Linked DNA regions of Homo sapiens: region 2 is linked to region 1. The links are contacts of gene promoters, found by promoter capture Hi-C in human tissues and cell types (Jung and others, 2019). All regions are on one chromosome and are shown on one strand. The core of a region is centred on a gene start or on the middle of the fragment in contact, and the rest is flanking DNA. Distances in the headings are between cores, read along the strand shown. Region 1 holds the start of PIK3CB (phosphatidylinositol-4,5-bisphosphate 3-kinase catalytic subunit beta). Region 2 overlaps CEP70 (centrosomal protein 70).

What was found. The method cuts DNA at HindIII sites, captures the fragments that hold promoters and counts their contacts. A contact is called where the count stands out against the background at its distance.
Region 2: a fragment that was not itself captured here is called in contact with the fragment with the promoter of PIK3CB in region 1 in 1 of the 25 tissues and cell types used here (aorta).

The regions. Positions count from the first base shown.
Region 1 is chr3:138,833,195-138,836,209 of GRCh38, forward strand. It overlaps PIK3CB (phosphatidylinositol-4,5-bisphosphate 3-kinase catalytic subunit beta), which reads right to left and starts at 1,734. Exons shown (of 24, transcript NM_006219.3): 1 at 1,501-1,734. RefSeq lists a silencer at 1,231-1,970. The HindIII fragment of the contact is 36,690 bases long and covers 1-3,015 here.
Region 2 is chr3:138,576,141-138,579,184 of GRCh38, forward strand. All of the region lies in intron 2 of CEP70 (centrosomal protein 70), which reads right to left. Among named protein-coding and RNA genes, the nearest start is that of CEP70, 17 kb to the right of the region's middle. The HindIII fragment of the contact is 5,148 bases long and covers 1-3,044 here.

The DNA.
Region 1 (3,015 bases), core at 484-2,983:
TAGCTGGGATTACAAGCGCCCGCCACCACGCCCTGCTAATTTTTGTGTTTTTGGTAGAGACGGGGTTTCACCATGTTGCTTGGGCTGGTGTCGAACTCCTGGAATCAATTGATCCGCCCGCCTCGGCCTCCCAAAGTGCTGGGATTACAGGCGTGAGCCAACGCACCTGGTCAGAAAAAAGACTTTACTTTCTTCCATACCTGCATTCTGAAACTGGGTTAAGATCCTTATCTGACCACCCTTTCCTGTGCTACATTATTATGACTTAAACAGTTCTGCTTTTACCATAAAATCTTACAATGTAGCATAAAAATCCCCAAATGATTAATGAACTGCTGAGACCTCTGACTCGTTGGAGACAATTTTATTACGAATCATATCTCCAAACTTCCATTCAGTGCTTCAAAATAAGTACTCATTTAATTATCATGACTTCACCAGACAGTCACACTGCCCACAATGATGTTTACAAAAGCACTTGTCACTCCCTTTGGATGTAGCAATGCAGAAAAAAGAGTCTGTTTCCATACTCTTCGTGTGTTTATAACTCTGTAACAAGTGGCAGAGTTCAAGTGTCACTTGAGATGAAACAGCAAAGCACTTCAAGTTTACGTCCCACCATCTTTCATCCTAAGCGAATCCCGAATTTGCTCGGTTTCATTTCAGCAGTAATTCCCACTCAGTACCTGAGACAGGGTTCCAATTCAGCCCTGCGGGAAGAGACTGCAGGATTCTAGTAAGGGACTATAGGATTCTATTTTGGCCACTGCGAGGTTAACAGGCTCCAATATTAAGCAACTCCAGTATCGGTTACTGCAACACCAGAGCAGATCGGAAATAAATGTGCCCCCAAACGCACGCCAGCAGCCAGGAATTAGCAATAGCTAACACGAGATGCTGCAGCAGGGGTATCATTTACTTAGCACTTGTTCAGTTATGCCTAACCTCACAACAACCTTATGGTGTATGTATTATTATTTCCATTTAACACATCAGGATATTTTGGCCCAAGGCCCCAGGACTGGTCAGCAGCGGCGTTGGGATTCGAAAACATGTCCATAACCTAATAACCCTGGGTCCACGCCTCTGAAATACACTTCTGCGCAAAAAGGCACCTGAGGGTCGGGAAGTTCCGGAGGTGTCCGCATAGACGCGGGGCGCGAGTACGCCGTCTCTCCACAGAAACGCCCCTCAGGAACGGGACCCAAAGCGACAGTGACCCGGGACGCCCGGCAGCGTCTCTGCCGCCCAGGGGCCGGGGGGCGCCACTCACCTTGGAGAGCCCAGGGCGGGCCGCAACCAAGCCAGACGCCCCCACCGGCCGGTAGGCGGTTATCCTCCAAGCTGGCAGGAAGCGCGGTGCAACCACAAGAGTCGCCAGCGCCGCAGGTAGCGGCAAGCTAGAACGCACCGCCAGCACGCCCGGGGGCACCGCAGCCGGCGCCGCGACCCAGCCGCCCCTCAGCCGCGCCGCATCCGGGTCCCGGCCGCCGCACTCACCTGCCTGGCGTTCCGCCGCCGCCGCCTGCTACTATTCCAAGTGCGCAGTCAGCAGCCCAGGCCGCCGCAACCGCTCCACTCCGGCGCCCCCATCCCTGCCTCTCTCGATCACCTCCCGCCTGCCCCGCGCAGCACTACACTCGCCCCCTCCCCACTGCCATGGCCCGCTCCGCCGCAGCGCCGCACAGGCCGACAGAGCACGCGCGCGCCGCCGCCGAACCCGCGCCCGTGTGCGCGCGCGCCAGCCTCTCAGGCCTGCATCCCAGCAGCCCCCGCCCCGCCCTGCGCCGCCCTCGGGCCAATCCCGGGCCCCGCGGTGGCGGCGGCGGCGGCGGCGGCAGTTGGGCTGGCAGGGTGTGGGGAGAGGCCTCACTGCCGATTCCTCTACCGTTGCCAGCCCGGCTGCGACGCTGCTGCACGGCCTTTCCTAACTCTCTTTGCGACTCCCAGAGGACTGCGGAATAGGGAATCCCCGGCAAGTCGCCTTCAGGAGAGACCCATCACCCGCTGCGGCCTCCATAACCTCCTCCCGAGAGATTCCGCTCTTCCTAGGTTCCTTGCTGGCCTTTTCTTCCCAGCCCTTCTCCCTGTTCTGCGACATGGACTGACTCCTAAATTCTTGGACGCAGCACTTATTTTTTTCCCGATACCCGTCTCCGTCTTTCACTCCCTTTGTGAGGATAGGGCGCTAGCTCGGCTGCCTCACAGCTGGCCCTTCAGTCCCTACACTGTGAATGGTTGTTTCTAGGGAAAAGTCCAGGCTTTCAAGCCCAAGATTCTTGTTCTTTGTTCAATTTTGCAGTAACAACACCTAACATTTGTCTGCAGAGCCTTAAACTTTACCCCTTTTTGCCTACCTTGTTTCCTGTTACCTTTGACCCCAACCGCGAAAAATCACAGTCCTCTTTCTAGTGGGACACTTAAATTTTACTTACTGAAAACCAACATTTTAACTCACTCCAAAGCTAGTATATTCTAACGTAATGCTCCTATATTACCCTGGACAAATAGTTGAGTAGTCAGGGATAAAATCTAGAAGTACAACATAATAAAAAGCAAACGTGACAAATCAATTAAGTGACAAACCAATAGTTTATTTGAGAAATGATCCTAGTTTTTTTATTTTTTATTTATTTACTTATTTTGAATGAGAGTTTCGCTACTGTTGCCCAGGCTGGAGTGCAATGGCGCGATCTTGGCTCACCGCAACTCTGCGTCCCCCGGTCAAGCGATTCTCCTGCCTCAGCCTTCCTGAGGATTACAGGCATGCGCCACCACGCCTGGCTAATTTTGTATTTTTAGTAGAGACGGGGTTTCTCCACGTTGGTCAGGCTGGTCTCGAACTCCCGACCTCAGGTGATCAGCCCGCCTCGGCCTCCCAAAGGGCTGGGATTACAGACATGAGCCACCGTGCCCGGCCAATGATCCTGGTTTTAATTGACTTTCGATTTAAAGCAAGAACATTGAAAAATAAATTCCAGAAGAGGCTGTAATACCAACACTTTGGGAGGCCGA
Region 2 (3,044 bases), core at 61-2,560, 260 kb before region 1:
AAAGACACAGACTGGCAAATCGGATAAAGAGTCAAGACCCATCAGTGTGCTGTATTCAGGAGACCCATCTCATGTGCAGAGACACACATAGGCTCAAAATAAAGGGATGGAGGAAGATCTACCAAGCAAATGGAAAGCAAAAAAAAGCAGGGGTTGCAATCCTAGTCTCTGATAAAACAGACTTTAAACCAGCAAAGATCAAAAGAGATAAAGAAGACCATTACATAATGGTAAAGGGATCAATTCAACAAGAAGAGCTAACTATCCTAAATATACACGCACCCAATACAGGAGCACCCAGATTCATAAAGCAAGTCCTTAGAGACCTACAAAGAGACTTAGACTCCCACACAATAATAATAGGAGACTTTAACACCCTACTGTCAATATGAGACAGATCAACAAGACAGAAGGTTAACAAGGATATCCAGGACTTGAACTCAGCTCTGCACCAAGCAGACCTAATAGACATCTACAGAACTCTCCACCCCAAATCAATAGAATATACATTCTTCTCAGCACCACATCACACTTATTCAAAAATTGACCACTTAGTTGGAAGTAAAGCACTCCTCAGCAAATGTAAAACAACAGAAATCACAACAAACTGTCTCTCAGACCACAGTGCAGTCAAATTAGAACTCAGGATTAAGAAACTCACTCAAAACCGCACAACTACATGGAAACTGAACAACCTGCTCCTGAATGACTACTGTGTAAATAACAAAATGAAGGCAGAAATAAAGATGTTCTTTGAAACCAATGAGAACAAAGACACAACATACCAGAATCTTGGAACCAACCCAAATGTCCATCAATGATAGACTGGATTAAGAAAATGTGGCACATATACACCATGGAATACTATGCAGCCATTAAAAAGAATGAGTTCATGTCCTTTGTAGGGACATGGATAAAGCTGGAAACCATCATTCTGAGCAAACTATCGCAAGGATAGAAAACCAAACACTGCATGTTCTCACTCATAGGTGGGAACTGAACAATGAGAACACTTGGACACAGGAAGGGGAACATCACACACCAGGGCCTGTCGTGGGGTGGGGGGATGGGGGAGGGATAGCATTAGGAGAAGTACCTAATGTAAACGACGAGTTAATGGGTGCAGCACACCAACATGGCACATGTATACATATGTAACAAACCTGCACGCTGTCATGTACTCTAGAACTTAAAGTATAATAAATACATAAATAAATAAACCCAAGGGTCAGGCACAATGGCTCATGCCTCTAATCCCAGCACTTTGGGAGGCCAAGGCGGGCAGATCACGAAGTCAGGAGATCAAGACTAGCCTGGCCAACATGGCAAAACCCCATCTTTACTAAAAATATAAAAAATTAGCCGGGTGTGGTGGCTCATGCCTGTAATCCCAGCTACTTGAGAGGCTGAGACAGGAGAATCACTTGAACCCAGGAGATGGAAGTTGCAGTGAGACGAGATGGTGCCACTGCACTCCAGCCTGGGTGACAGAGAGAGACTCTGCCTCGGAAAAAATAAAAAAATTTTTAAAAACCCAAAAGAAGAGAAACACAAGCAGACAAGAGGTAAAACAAAGAGAAAAGCACATGGTACTTGACAATATGGTAGATTTAAATCCATATCAGTAATTACATTAATCATGAATGGCTCCAGTTAAAAGAGACTGTCAAACTAGATTTTTAAAAATCAAGCTATATGCTGTTGAAGGGAAAAAAGACTTCTAAAACACTAAAAAGCCACTTAAAATAAAAACATTAAAGCAGTTAAAAGTAAGAGAATAAAGAAACAATTCTGGGAAGACGGCATGGCCACAGCCTAGTTTTTTCATCTCTGCATCCCACATTAAAACAGAAGCAACTAGAGAGCAAAGCTAAAAACCCAAAAGCAATAGCAGGTCTTCCCTATACATGGGGATTGGTTTCAGAACCACCTGCAAGTACCAAAATCCATGGATGCTCAAGTTCCTTCAATAAAATGGTGTAGTACCGTTGGCCCTCCTTATCTGCAGGTTTCAATCTGCAGTCGGTTGAATCTGTGGATACAAAACTGGCAGATATAGAGAGCTAACTATTTATATCAAAAGCTGGTGAAAAGTTATTCTCACGAACACTAAAATATAAGTGGGGGAGGGCAAACCACTAACGGCCATAAAAGCTGCATGGTACCAGCATCTGTGCTGGAAGAAAAAAAAGCTACAGGCAGTGTCTGATGGTTATGAGAATGAGAGAACTCCCTAATTCATTGGTATCGCTAATATTCACTATGGCACTAACATGAAACAGGAAGTGAAACCAGAAGGGGTTTTACCCTTTCCTAGAAGAAAAACAGAAGATGCTGGAACCCTGTGAACACTCAAAATGGACATGTTACATTTCCATGACAGAGCCCATGATGAGAAGAAACTTTTGGGAATAGAATCAAAACTGAGCAAGATAGGGATAAGAGAGAAGGGAAGATCCACACCAAAATAGGGAAGAAAATAGAAGCAGGAAGTCTCAGAAAACAAACTGCCATATTTTCAAACACTACACAAAAATATTAGAAGTCCAAGATGTTAGAAAAGCTTTCCTGAACTCTCAACCATTATAAAAGTTCAGAAAAACTAATTTTACATAAAAGTGAGCAAAGAAAAGCACTGAGGTCTAACCCCATCAAAAGTTAATATTGAAGGCGGAGCAAAATGACTGAACAGAAGCCTCCACCGATTGTCCTCCCAACAGGAACACCAAATTTAAGAACTATCTTTACAAAAAAGCACCTTCATAAGAGCCAAAAATCAGGTGAGCAATCACAGTAACTGGTTTTAACTTCATATGGCTGAAAGAGGCACCGAAGAGGGTAGGAAAGACATTTATAAATTGCCAATACCATTCTCCCCCAATCCCCCGGTAACGGCCAGCCATGTGGCGCAGAGAGAGAATCTGTGCACTTAGGGGAAGTAAAGTGCAGTGACTGTGGAACTTTGCATTGAAAGGCAGTACCAACAACACCAGGAAGAATTCAACCCACTGGAGGGATCATTTAGACCAGTCCTAGCCAGAGGG